5 separate regions of the Homo sapiens genome follow, and regions 1, 2, 4 and 5 are each linked to region 3. Evidence: promoter capture Hi-C in 16 types of primary human blood cells and fetal thymus (Javierre and others, 2016). All regions are on one chromosome and are shown on one strand. Each heading gives the region's core, a stretch centred on a gene start or on the middle of the fragment in contact. The rest is flanking DNA. Distances are from core to core; before and after follow the strand shown.

The links. Contacts are between HindIII fragments. The CHiCAGO score rates a contact against its expected background, and 5 or more counts as called.
Region 1: a contact is called between a fragment that was not itself captured here and the fragment with the promoter of IGSF3 in region 3, in 2 of 17 cell types (activated CD4 T cells and total CD8 T cells). The highest score is 6.7, in activated CD4 T cells.
Region 2: a fragment that was not itself captured here is called in contact with the fragment with the promoter of IGSF3 in region 3 in 9 of 17 cell types (megakaryocytes, M2 macrophages, fetal thymus and 6 more); the score reaches 11.9 in megakaryocytes.
Region 4: a contact is called between a fragment that was not itself captured here and the fragment with the promoter of IGSF3 in region 3, in 1 of 17 cell types (M2 macrophages). The highest score is 5.4, in M2 macrophages.
Region 5: a contact is called between a fragment that was not itself captured here and the fragment with the promoter of IGSF3 in region 3, in 2 of 17 cell types (fetal thymus and naive CD4 T cells). The highest score is 5.9, in fetal thymus.

Annotation. Positions count from the first base shown.
Region 1 is chr1:117,081,851-117,084,649 of GRCh38, reverse strand. TTF2 (transcription termination factor 2) reads right to left here. Exons shown (of 23, transcript NM_003594.4): 10 at 2,703-2,799; 11 at 482-632. Among named protein-coding and RNA genes, the nearest start is that of MIR942, 11 kb to the left of the region's middle. The HindIII fragment of the contact is 4,974 bases long and covers 1-2,799 here.
Region 2 is chr1:117,053,406-117,056,105 of GRCh38, reverse strand. All of the region lies in intron 1 of CD101-AS1 (CD101 antisense RNA 1), which reads left to right. Among named protein-coding and RNA genes, the nearest start is that of CD101-AS1, 4.7 kb to the left of the region's middle. The HindIII fragment of the contact is 6,290 bases long and covers 1-2,700 here.
Region 3 is chr1:116,666,483-116,669,182 of GRCh38, reverse strand. It overlaps IGSF3 (immunoglobulin superfamily member 3), which reads left to right and starts at 1,450. Exons shown (of 11, transcript NM_001007237.3): 1 at 1,450-1,565; 2 at 2,227-2,700. RefSeq lists a silencer at 1,216-1,605. The HindIII fragment of the contact is 3,697 bases long and covers 1-2,700 here.
Region 4 is chr1:117,037,245-117,039,972 of GRCh38, reverse strand. The region is part of intron 2 of CD101-AS1 (CD101 antisense RNA 1); the gene reads left to right. Among named protein-coding and RNA genes, the nearest start is that of CD101-AS1, 21 kb to the left of the region's middle. The HindIII fragment of the contact is 4,956 bases long and covers 1-2,728 here.
Region 5 is chr1:117,099,095-117,101,794 of GRCh38, reverse strand. It overlaps TTF2 (transcription termination factor 2), which reads right to left. Exons shown (of 23, transcript NM_003594.4): 23 at 1-415. The coding sequence ends at 271. Among named protein-coding and RNA genes, the nearest start is that of MIR942, 5.8 kb to the right of the region's middle. The HindIII fragment of the contact is 2,750 bases long and covers 1-2,700 here.

The DNA of each region.
Region 1 (2,799 bases), core at 106-2,605, 420 kb before region 3:
CTAATCGTCCTAAATTATTGAGTCTAAAGCATCTTAGATGGTTCATATATTAAAAAGTCATAAAAATATAATCAACCTATAGCAACTAATCATTAGCATTCTATCAAGATGCTCTGTAGAACTGGGCTGGTTCCATTCACACTATGTACACCTGGAATCAGAACTCCAGCAGCCATGAGGGCCTTGCGACACATCTCCTTGACTAGGGGAATGCTGCTGTCACCTGAATGGCAGCTCCGGCATCTCAGGCCTCCTCACAGGGCAGCTTTCATTGAGGACAATGACAAGGACACAGCAAAAGATCACCAGTAGACCTCAGGATACAACGCAAAGGCTGTATGGTGACGAGACTAAAGATCTGTCTTTGGCTTTCACAAATACGCGTCCTGATTAAGTGAAATCTCAGGGATGGGAGCAAAGGCCCGTGGGCCCTTGGGCAGAGGTGCTGAACGCCCCCACAACTGCGTATTCCTGCACTTACACTCTGGCACGTGAATCCCGGTTTGGCCCATGGTAGAGATAGACTCTTAGTTTGTTGCTGTTCACCCGTTTCTCCACCTCATTTTTCCAATGATGGATCAGGGAGGCAGGACAGATGATTAGTGTTCCATGGGAAGTAAAGTCACAAGAGTCTTGAGAAGGGAAAAAAATCAGTGCCTAGTTACATTCACCAAATGGCTTTTAACTTTTCTTTTTTAATATATGGAGACACGGTCTTGCTGTGTTACCCAGGCTGTCTCAAACTCCTAGGCTCAAGTGATCCTCCTGCCTTAGCCTCCCACAGTGGAATTACAGGTGTGAGTCATCGTGTTTGACCGGCCTTTAACTTAAAGGCATTACCTCTTCCTCTTGACTGACTTTACTCCTTCAATTAATATGTTTAACCATTGCTCTTATTTCTATACAGAGCCTATAGTGAAGTAGGAAATGGAAGAAATGGTCTTTTAAACTGAAACACTTGATTACTTATTTTCTCCACTAAAAGTACAGGCAGAAAGAGAGGCTAAACAGGGGGAGGAAAGTGGGTGGCACATGACCTCAGTGTGAAAAAGCAATGTGCTTTCACAGAGTGGCTGGAAGTGAAAGCTGGATCATTTCCTAACTCCTCTTGAGTTGATTCATTATAGAGGCGTATGGAGTATTGTTATACTTTCTGAAAAGCATAACTTAATGTACTTCTACCTTAAAATTAAGTACAGAAACCTTTTTTAAAAAATAAGCAAACATTGGTTTGGAACCAATTAGTGATGGTTTGTTTATACCATGGCCCCTCATCTCTGCGTGTGTGTGCCTGTGCTACTTACACATACTGCTAGTACACACAAAGGGATATAGGACCCAGCTGCAACAGTGCTCATTAGAGGCCCTGAGAGCAGATGCCACAGATTTTTTTTTTTTTTTTTTTTTTGAGACGGAGTCTCGCTCTGTCACCCAGGCTGGAGTGCAGTGGCACGATCTCGGCTCACTGCAAGCTCTGCCTCCCAGGTTCATGCCATTCTCCTGCCTCAGCCTCCTGAGTAGCTGGGACTACAGGCGCCTGCCACCATGCTTGGCTAATTTTTTGTATTTTTAGTAGAGACGGGGTTTCACCGTATTAGTCAGGATGGTCTCGGTCTCCTGACCTTGTTATCCGCCCACCTCAGCCTCCCAAAGTGCTGGGATTACAGGCGTGAGCCACCATGCCCGGCCCACAGATTTTTAATCTATCTAAGCAACTGAGAGCTGTACTTGAATACATGGCAACTTACATGTAGTGTTGTCTATACATAACATATTCAATCTTTAAAGTACTTATAAAGTTATTACTTTTTATTTAATTTTTTTTAAGAGACAGTGTCTTGCTTTCTTGCCCAGTTGGCCTCAAGCTCCCAGGCTCAAGTGATTCTCCTGCCTCTCCTCCCTCAATTGGGACTACAGGTGCATACCACTGTGCCTGGCTAAAGTTACTACATTTTAAAAACATATGTTAAGATAGAAAGTGTCTATAATCTAGGAACTTCTAGAATTTCAGAAACATGGAAAATAGCTTCCACTATAGTGACTAAAATGTGAATTTGTGACAGATCTTCCTTTAAAAAAATTAATTTGAATCTACCCTGTAGTTATTTCCCCAATATTTCCAAAAATAATAATTATTGGCCAGGCATGGTGGGTCACACCTATAATCCCAGCACTTTGGAAGGCTGAGGCAGGATGATTGCTTGAGCCCAGTTGTTTGAGACCAGCCAGGCAACATGGTGAGATCCTATCTCTACAAAAAAATTAAAAAATTAGCTGGGTGTGGTGGTGCAAACTTGTGGTCCCAGCTACTTGGGAGGCTGAGGTGGGAGGATCGCTTGAGCCAAGGAGGTTTAGGCTGCAGTAAGCTGTGTTCATGCACTGCACTCCAGCCTGAGCAACAGAGCGAGACCCTGTCTCAAAAAATAAGAATTATTATTATGCTTAAATTAAGTGTTCTAGAGCCTCAGCTTTCTCCATAAAATTCTGCCTAGTTTATAGGCAAATTTATACGGAAAAAATGATCACTTATAATTAGCATACTCAGCATCAGAAATGATATGATAGGTGAGTAATCTAATACTGGTTTTCCAGTAGAGTAATTAAATATGACCAAAGGTGTCCTTTTTTAGCTGAAGACGTTCCCCTCTTGGGTGGCTCAAATGACGTAGGGAATGGCAGGCTATTAAGGCACTTCTGTCTACCATCTTTGGAGAGCCACGTCAAAGCTGTGCTTTTCTCCTTTTCTTCCTTTTTCTCTTGATTCTTCTGGGTCAGGATGAGCGCAATCATTGTCAGGGT
Region 2 (2,700 bases), core at 162-2,661, 390 kb before region 3:
TTTTGACCTGGCTCAAAGTCACAAAGCTGACAGCAGCCAATCAGGGACTAAAGGCCATTTTTCAGAACTTTCAATCCAGTTCTTGCCACTATAGTATTTTTTCTTCTTCTTCTTCTTCTTTTTTTTTTTGAGACGGAGTCTCGCTCTGTCGCCCAGGCTGGAGTGCAGTGGCGTGATCTCGGCTCACTGCAACCTCCACTTCCCAGGTTTAAGCAATTCTCCTGCCTCAGCCTCCCAAGTAGCTGGGATTACAGGCACCCACCACCACGCCCAGCAATTTTGTGTATTTTTAGTAGAGATGGGGTTTCGCCATGTTGGCCAGGCTGGTCTCGAACTCCTGAGACCTCAGGTGATCCACCTGCCTCGGCCTCCCAAAGTGCTGGGATTACAGGCCTGAGCCACTGCGCCCAGCCTATAGTATTTTTATAAAGCATAAATTATTCAGCAATGCATTCAGATATTTAACCCACACATCGGTAAGTGTTTAGGTATTTGCTGTGGTGTAGAGACATGGCTCAACAAATCCAAGACAAAAACCAAAAACCCAAGTCCTGCCATTTTATAAATGACCACTAGGTAGCAGCCTAGTAACATAAAAACCAAACTGAGGCCCACCCTCCTCTGTTTCATTCTTTTTGTTTGAAGATATATAATGGTAATTCAATTTCATTTCATTTCATTTTGTGCCTTTCAAACATATGACTGTTTTCAACTTGTCCTTTGACATAGGCTCGATCAGGATGATACTATAGTGAGAACAAATGTGGTTATAATTTGTAAAGCCAAGAGACTTTACAAATTATTTTGTTATACCAATATTTTTTCAGTACTAGATTCCAAATTTCACTGTTCTTAAAATATTATTCCAAAAGTGGTTCAATGCAGGCTCTTTATCTTCTTCTTTTTTTTTTTTTTTTTTTTTGGTAAATGTACAGGTATTTTTTTCAGTTGGAGTCTTGTCTGTTACCCAGGCTGGAGTGGAGTGCAATGGTAGGATCTTGGCTCACTGCAACCTCCGCCTCCTGGGTTCAAGTGATTCTCCTGCCTCAGCCTCCTGAGTAGCTGGGATTATAGGCTTGTGCCACCACGCTCAGCTAATTTTTGTATTTTTAGTAGAGATGGGGTTTCACCATGTTGTCCAGGCTGGTCTTGAACTCCTGAACTCAGGTGATCCACTCGCCTCGACCCCCCAAAGTGCTGGGATTACAGGCTTGAGCCATCGCGCCCGGCCACAATTCTTTTTTTTTTTTTTTTGAGACAGAGTCTCACTCTGTTGCCAGGCTGGAGTACAGTGGCATGATCTTGGCTCACTGTAACCTCTGCCTCCTGGGTTCAAGTGACTCTCCTGCCTCAGCCTCCCGAGTAGCTGGGATTACAGGTGCCCGCCACCACGCCTGGCCAATTTTTGTATTTTTAGTAGAGATGGGGTTTCACCCTGTTGGCCAGGCTGGTCTCGAACTCCTGAACTCAGGTGATCCACCCGCCTCGGCCTCCCAAAGTGCTGGGATTACAGGCATGAGCCATCACACCTGGCCCACAATTCATTGTTTAAGTAAATTTATAAAGTTGTGCCATCACCACCAGAATCCAGTTTTAAAACATTTCTATCACTCAAAAACTTTCCTCAAAGCTGTGTGCAGTCAATCCCAACTGCCACCCCCAGCTAGTCCCAAGGCAACCTCTGATATGCTTTCTGTCTTTATAAGTTTGCCTTTTCTGGACATTTCATATAATGGAGTCATGTAATATGTAGTCTCTTGCCTCTGTCTTCTTTCACTTACATAATGCTTGTGAGGTTTACCCATGTTGCACATGTATCAGTATTTCACTCCTTTTTATTGCTGAGTAATATTCCATTGTGTTCATTCACCAGTTGGTGGACATTTGGATCATTTTCCCTTTGGAATTATTAGGAATAATATTGCTATGAACATTAATGTTAAAGTCTGTTTTATTGTTTTTGTTTTTGTTTTTTTGTTTTTTGTTGTTGTTGTTTTTGAGATGGAGTCTTGCTCTGTCACCCAAGCTGGAGTGCAGTGGCATGATCTTGGCTCACTGCAACCTCCAGCTCCCAGGTTCAAGCAATTCTCCTGCCTCAGCCTCCCGAGTAGCTGGGATTATAGGCTCGAGCCACCACGTAAGCTAATTTTTATATTTTTAGTAGGGACAGGGTTTCACCATGTTGGCCAAGCTGGTCTCAAACTCCTGACCTCAGGTAATCTATCTGCCTCAGCCTCCCTAAGTACTGGGATTACAGGCATGAGCCACCGCACCCGGCCTAACGTTAAAGTCTTTATATGAACATTTGTTCTCATTTCTCTTGGGCAGATAAACCTGTGAGTGGAATTGCTAGTTCATATGGTTAGTTTGTTTAACTTTTTAAGAAATTGCCAAACCACTTTCCAAAGTGGCTATACCATTTTATATTTCCACCAGCAACGTATGAGGGTTCCCAGTTCTTCATGTCCTCAACAATGCTTGTTATTGCGTGCCTTTTTTAGTAGGTATGAAGTGGTATCTGACTTTTGTTTGAATTTTGATTTTTCTATTGATGTGGCACTCTTTTTCGTGTGCTTTTTAGCCATCATCTTCCTCTTTTTAAATGGTCTTGAAAGTCTTTTTCCTTTAACGTTTGTATGGAACTTAAACCTAAGTTAAAATGACATTAATTGTTATTAATACAAAGACATAAAAAGACAT
Region 3 (2,700 bases), core at 201-2,700:
ACATGGTGAAACACTGTCTCTACTAAAAGTACAAAAATTATCCGGGTGTGGTGGTGCACGCCTGTAGTCCCAGTGACTCAGGAGGCTGAGGCAGGAGAATCACTTGAACCCGGGAGGTGGAGGTTGCAGTGAGACAAGATTACACCACTGCATTCCAGCCTGGGTCACAGAGTGAGAACCTGTCTCTTAAAATAAAATGAAAAATAAAACGTATATCTGATAACCATAGTCCCTTACTCAACACCTTCAGTGGCTTCCCAATGGTCCCAACCCCTTAACACACCATACAATGCCCTCTAGGTTCTGGCACTCGATTTCTTCTCAGCTCATTTCTTGTCACTTCTCTCCTACAGTCAAGTTTGGGCCCAGCAGACTGTCCTGGTCCTCTAACTGGGCTCCTTTCTGGGCCTGCAGAGGTGCTGTTTCTTCAGTCTGCGATTCCTTACCTCCCCTCTGTCTCTTCCTCTGCTGCTGCCTTCTGTTCTTTGGCATTCAACCGAGTTTTCCTTTCCTCTGAGAAGCCTGGGACCTACCCCGACCAAAGCTCCCTCCTCCTTGCCCCTCCCCCAATAACACAGGGTTGGGGTCTCTGCATTTGCTTCCTCAACACTGTACTTTTCTTGTCATGTCTATTTTATGGTCTGTGTCCCCACTAGACTGCAAGTTGCATGAGGGCAGGGCGGTCTATTCTGCTTTGGTCGCCTCGTGACGGTGTCTACCCAGCAAGTTGTGTGTGTTGGGTAAGTAGTGAGAAAACGAAAAAGCACTTGCTTTACAGGGCGGTTGGTCATAAAATAATAATAGCTTATATTTACTGACCACTTGTGATGTATCAGGCACCATTCTAAATGCTTTACAAGTATGTCACAGATTTCTCCCATAACCCTCTTAAGTAAGGGTTATTTCCTCCACATAGCAGATGGGGAAATTGAGGCACAGAGAGGTTAAGTAACTTGCCAAGGGCCACAGCGAGGAAGTGGAGGAACCGGCGTTAGAACCCAGGCTGTTTCCAGAGTCCAAATTCTATCCAAGAGTGAAGTGCAATATGGGGTTCCACTTCGTGAACAGATTCAAGTCTCCAAAGGGCTTTGTTTTTGTTTCCAGGAGGAAGGACGAGCTTCTGTGCCGCCGGCTTCCCAGGTTATGGGTGGCCAGCTGGGCTTTGGGAAGGGCCTGTACATCTCGCCGGCGGCCCCGGAGTCTGGGTGTGAAGCCCTGATTAACTTGCCGGGCTGCTCGGCCCACACGCCAGCCCTGCCCAGGTCCTCCGGTGCCCCGGGCCACCCTCATGCCCCCGCCAGGCCCGGGGCCGGGACTCGCGTCTCCAGGGGCGGGGCCGGGGGCGGGGCCGGGCCTCTCTTCGAGGCCGCCGCCCTGGCCCCGCGCTCGCCTCGCCGAGTGCGGCGGGCCGGGCTGGAGCTGGAGGGGCGGGGACTCGGGAGGGGCCGCAGCGCGGCTGCTGGTGCCGTTGCGGGAGAAGAGGAAGCGGCGCGTCCCCTGAGGCGTGCGCCTGGATGGACTGAAGGACGGTCCGACGCGCGCGGAGGGAGAGGGCCAGGGGCGAGGTCAGGCTCGGCGGGGGCGCGGGCGGCGCCCGGAGGGGGCCCCGGGGAGGGAGGCGGGGAGGCGTGGAGCGGGGAGCGGGGAGCGGGGAGTGGGGAGCGGGCCCGCGCCGGCTGAGCTCCGGGTCGGGCCCGAGACCCCTCCCCTGGCTGGGCGGGCGCGCTGCGAGCGCGCTCCGGCAGCTGAAAGCGGAGCTCCGGACTCCCTTCTTCCCCGGTTTCTTTTCTTTCCAATCAGCGAGATATAAACACCCTGCAAGGTAAAACAATAGCGGGGCCACCTGGGACGCGTCGCGCGCAGAGCTCCCACGGTTGGGGCGGGGGCCGGGAGTCGCGGCCCCACCGCGGAGCCCCTTCCCGATTTGCCCTGGCGGAGGGTGGGGCTACCTGCGGCGCCCGGGCTCGGTAGGAGGTGACGGGAATTCCCAGGAGTGAAGCATTTGGTGGAAGTATTTCAGGAACAATCGGGCTTCCCACTGTTGCCCTGCTCTGGGCAGGGAAACTGAGGCGGAGGGAAAGACAGAGACTTGCCCAAGGTCAGAATGCAGAGGTTGACTGTCCTGGTCCAGGAACCGGACCCAGGTGTCCGGACCAGCTCAGCGCTCAGCCCCAGTGGGTTTTGCAGCTTTGCCTTTGATAAAAATCTCTGTTGTGTTTGTTTTAGAAATCTGCTCGCGCTGGGGTACCGCTTCAGGGCTGCCGAACGCCAACTTGCTTCGTGTGCCCTAGGCAGGCGTGGGGCAGGTGGCGCCTCCGTGACCTACCACCATGGATGGAAACGGACTTTTTGGTGAAGAAACCCAAACGGTTGATGCCAGGCAGGGTGATTTGGCCGTCAAAGGTTTTGACGAAACCTGCCCTGTTCTCTCTGGGGAATCCGAATGAGGGAGATCACAGACACCTTCACTGAGAAGCCAAGGACATTTCTGTATAATCAGTGGATGAAAGGATTTTCTCAGACCCTTTTTTCCGTGCTTCTGGAGGATTAATCCACTACAGTCTGCAATTTCAGTGGAAACTGCAAGGCACACGATGTGGCAGGAGCCGGGAGCGACTTCCGAATTGTTGTGGACCCTTCCTGTAGCATAGGGGAGTTTTCACACTTGCCTCCACTCCTCCCCTTCCCCCCAACTCCCTC
Region 4 (2,728 bases), core at 211-2,710, 370 kb before region 3:
GAGCACAAGGTACCCAGAAAGGGACTAGGGTGAGATAAGTCCACCAAGAATCCTATTGTTGAAAAGCCAGTTTAAAATGGAAGCACACACCCTCTCGGTTCCCTTGACAATGTGACCTTATAGGAGTAATAAATTTGGATTTTCCTATGCTGGTTATTTATACCATAGAAACTTCTTAATCACTGTCCTCATCCAATATAGTCTCTCGTCTCGGTAAATGGCTTAATGTGATAATTATGCTTCAACTCAAAACATCTCTATTTGGCAGTCAGAGCTGGTTCAGAAGGAGCCTTGGATTAAGAGACAATATGGTAGAAACTCCAAATTTCTAACAAGTAAATTAAATGTAAAGGTGAATAAATTTTTTAAAAAATGGAAAGCCAGTTAATATAATGAATGGATGGAACTGTCTCTTATCTCTAAACTTATCAGTAGAAAACTAGGTTAACGAGCATTTATTAGACACAAGAAGAGTCTCATCATGTGTCATTGTGTTTAATATACAGGAGCTACCTCTATGAGCTTGATACTTGAAACTTTCTGATAATTTTTTTCTATACTCAAAATGCTCACAAAATTGGTGTGATAGCCATTACACAAATTAAGAGAGTGAAGATGGTTTTCCAGCTGGCTTCCCTGCCTCACCTTTGTACCACTGCCATCCTCACTCCAACCCCACCTATCATCTATGCTGTTGCTTTTCAATTCTCCTTCCCTACTACATTACATTCACTGGCTCACTATTGTCCACCACATGAAGTCCAAGATATTATCCATGTTCAAGATCTGTTCTTCTGTCCTTCCCCAACCCCAGAATTTTGCTCTAACTACTTTTCCAGATTTATCTCCCATTGCTCCCCTTCATAGATCTGACACTTAACCCAAAGCTATTGTAAGCACTGCACTTTTCATGGGGCTTCCTCTGTCCAGACCTCTGCTTAACCCTTTTCCTGTCAAAATATTTTCTTATTTTTAAAGCCCAGTTCAACTTACATCTTCTTTATGAAGTTGTCTCTGATTTCTAAATGCCTGTAGCACTTTATTAGGAGTAAAAATTAATAGCCAGTTTGACAGAATTCCCACCTGAGCCTACAGGGAATGCAGACTTCTCAGGCTCTGTCTGCCAAGTGGTAGAGCTCCCCAACAGCACAATTGCATAACCTTCCTGCTGGAGGAAAAGAGGACCTGTGATGAGGAGGTTAGTGCAGAGGCTGCTGGGAACAGGCAATGGGAAATGGAGAGAATAGCATGAAGTCTTTCCCAGCCTGGCCGCAGACTTGCTGGTGTCTGGACTCTGGAGAAAGGAGATACTGGGCAAATGCTAATGGAACAGTTTTCACAAGAGAATCTTTAGAGACACGGGTGCAAACAATCTTGAATTTGTATCCTTACAGAAGAGTGTAATGTAAAGACAGAGAAAGAGTCCCTTTTCACTGCTTATCACTGAACACGACTCAGCTTGGCATCTCATGTGCTCTGGCATGCCAGCTGCGGTGGGAGCCCGCAGAGCCCAACGGAGCTGCAGGGAACCACATGGGAATGGACTTGCTTGTGAGCTCATGTGAATTCACAGAATCCGGGCCAGATGTGGTGGTGTGTACTTGTAGACCCAGCTACTTGGGAGGCTCTTGCAGGAGGATTACTTGAGCTCAGGAGCTCAATGCCAGCTTGAGCAATCTAGTGAGACCTCATCTCTTTAAAAAAAAATTTCCAGTTTTGGGAAATCCCCCAGAAATAGCTAAAGGACACTGTAGATGGCCAAGACCCTGTGTAAATATTCTGGGAGGGAAAGCCTGTAGAATTTGGATTATTACTATTGATTACATTTTATTTATGTACACGGACAGGTTAAGTCCTAGAAAAACTTGGGTTAATGCTGACATTCATTTATGACTTGATGTGGTTTTAAAACTTATCTCCATTGATGTATCTGATTTGATCACCATAACAACCACTCAAAGTGGCTATTATTATATCCAGATTTTCCCCCATAGCAATGGATTTGAGCATATTTTTTGTGTTTATTGTGGAAAGAGTGTTTATTGTGGAAAGAGTCCAGGACTTGTCAGCAGACCTAAGTTTGAGCTTTTACTCTTCTGCATATGGCTGGGTGATCCTGGATAAATCCCAACCTCTCTGAGCTATAATTCCTTACCTGTAGGACAGGAATAACAATTCCTTTTGTATAGAGATGCTGTAAAATTCTGAGATAATGAAAAAAATCCTGTACGATTGTAAGAAATTATTATGGCACATGACTTTATACCATTGCATTCATCTTCTGCCATAAATCGGTTTTTTCTATACATCTCAATACAATAAAAATAATTAACAGCAACCATGCCTTAATCATCCCTGTGTCATCTTATCTTGCACAGAGTAGGTACTCAGTATGATGGCGTGAAACGTTGCAGGGTGATAAACTTCCCATCTATAGTGTGAGGCCGGTACAGCGGAGTCAAACTTCAGAATGGCTGGGACTAGATGCCAATCCTGAAAACCTAAGATTATTTATTAGATTAATCAGATATAGAAGAGATTCAGATATAAGAGGTCAAATCAGTTTCCCAGGGACATAATACATGGCTAAGAGAGACAGAACATTAAAGGACAGCAGGGCTGGCAAATGTTTTCTGTAAAGGGCCAGAATAATAAACATTTTAGGCAATGTAGGTCCTATGGTCTCTGTGGCAACTACACAACTTTGCCATTTTTATCGTGAAAGCAG
Region 5 (2,700 bases), core at 85-2,584, 430 kb before region 3:
CTCTAAAACATATTCTTTTATCTAAAAAAATCAATTGGTTTCCATACCACTCATTAAATAAATTATTAACATAATTGGTTAACTAATTGGTTAACACAACCCCTCCTCAATTCTGGGGATAAGATTATGCCTCATTTTGAGGAAGGTGAAAGGCTTGACGGTGAAATTGAAATGCAAAGAACAGAGTTCAAGGCTCATGGTTAGGTTGTTATTCCCAGATCCTAATACAAACCAGCAATGGTGCTATTCTGAGCCCTTATCCACAGGAGGTTAGATGCCAAAAAGGACTCTGAGGTCAGCCAAGGTGAGCTTGGTGACAGATTCTCCAGACCCTGATAGAACTTGTTTGGCCAAATCTTTCTTTTTTTCTTGGAGCTGTAAGATCTTTTCTTCTACTGTTCCCTCACAAACAAATCTAAAAAACAAAAACAAAAAATAAGCAAACTATCAAAAACCCTAAGCAGCACATCTAATAATATATTCAAACTTTTATTATGCTTTCATTTTTAATGAGATTTCTTCCTTTAAGTCTTCTTAGGTCCAGTTAAGAACCCTGTCTGAGGAATCCAAACAACCTTGACTAGATATATATCCCTTTAAAAGGATGTGACCCACATTGGCATTTTAATACTTTCTGAAGCTAAGGTAATTGAAACAAACTCAAAATAAGCAAAAGATATCCCAATCCAAAAAAGTATAGAGATCCAGCTTTTACCCAAAAAGTTCTACCTTGGTAAGTCCATAAGGCCTCAAAGGTTATCAAATTTCTGCTAGTTTAAGTAGAGTATTTCTTAGTGAATTCACAATAAAAACAGGGTTTTCAAACCAAGTAAATGGCACTGTTGTCATTCATTCACTCATTCAAAAGTATTGATTAAGCACTCACTACACTATGCTAGGTGTGGGGATGGAGAGATGAATATAGTCTTGCTCCAAAGCAGAACAAAAGCGAGACAAACATGAAAATAAACAATAATATGACCTGGTAAGTGCTATAATGGAAGTATGTGCCGTGTGCAAAAGGAGGAGAAGGAAATGTGTCCAGGGTAGTCAGGGAGGGCCCCATTAAACAGTTAACTCTTAATATGAGACTTGTATGTTGGGCAAGGGTTTGCCAGAAAGAGCAGTGAGGAGAGCACCCCAGGGAATGGGAACACGTGCAAAACCATGGCTGAGTTTCAGAGCATGGTGTATTGGAGGAAGTTCACATTGACCATGTTGTCCACAATGGCAAAAGCTCAAGAGGCTGGTAGGGCCAGATCACGGGTGGTGGTGCATGTCATGCTAAGACATTTTGATTTGATCCTATAGGAGGTGAGAGCTACTGAAGAATATGAGAAGTGGATGACACAATCAGATGGATTAGCTAGGAAGAGCCCTTCGGTGGTGATGGAGAGAACAGGATTCAGCAGAGTGGGAAGGGGGGACCTGGCAGTGGGCATGGGAAGGAAGAAATGGTTATCAGAAACATTTAGAAAATATAACTAAAGGACTTGGTAAGTGGAAAAGCGAGAAAGGTAGGAGTCTAGTTCTGGCTAGATAATTAGATAAAGAGTGATACTATTCACAAAGACAATGACTACAGAAGAATAGCAGATTTGAGATAATAGGAAGAGAAAATCAATTTCTATTTGTAACATTTGAGTACCTGAAACATGTAATTATACTTGCTACATAGTGGGTGCTCAAAAGGTATGTTTTATGGGCTGAATGCTCAAAAGAACAATGAATAAAAGAAGGAATAACAGATGAGTATGTGGACACTCGGATTCAGATATTTAGCAGGGACTGCGATAGGTCTGAAGTTTAGGAGACCTTGGAACTAAAGATACAAATTTTGGACTTACTGGAGTGCACAGAATTTGTGAAGGAAGGAATGTACAGAATGAGCAGAGAAGAGAGCATAGGAAGACTATCATAATCACTATATTTAGCAAAGTCTGGAAGTCATTGGTGCCCCTTAACAAGAGCAATTTCAGTGCAGCAACAGGAGTAAAAGCCAGTTTGTAAAGGCTGAGGAATGAATGGGAAGTAATCAAGTAAAGATAGGCAGTGATTCCTAATTCTTCAGGAAACCTGGTCATGAAAAGGAAGGCAAAAAAGAGGGCCATTGTGAGAGGGGATTGGCAGCATTAAGGCAGGTTTTGTTGTTTTTAAAGACAAGGGGGTCCAAAACAGAGGACATTTTGCAAAATAACTGGCTCATGCTCATCAAAATGTCAATGTCATAAAACACAAAGACTGGGTACTGTTCCAGATCAAAGGAGACAAACTTATGAAAACTGCGTGCTACCAGGATCTGGGATTCTTTTTTGCTGTGAAGGACATCACTGAGACAAGTGAGATTGAAAAGATCTGTAGATCAGATAATAGTGTTTTATTAATTTTAATAACCTGATTTTGATGATTTTATTGGGGTTACGTAAGAGAATTCCCTTAATTTTAAGAAATGTACACTTAAGTACTTAGGGACAAAGGAGCATCAGGTCTACAACTTGTTCTCAAGTGGTCCAGAAAAATGTTTCTACCCACATGCACACCATAATATATGGGAACTTTTTGGTACTATTCTTGTACGTTTTCTGTATGTCTGAAATTATGTCAAAATAAAAGTTAAAAAGAAAAATAAAAGATAGGAGCATCCTTTCATGGACTGCCCTCACCATATACACAAATTTGCTCTTCTTTTGCAGTGACCAA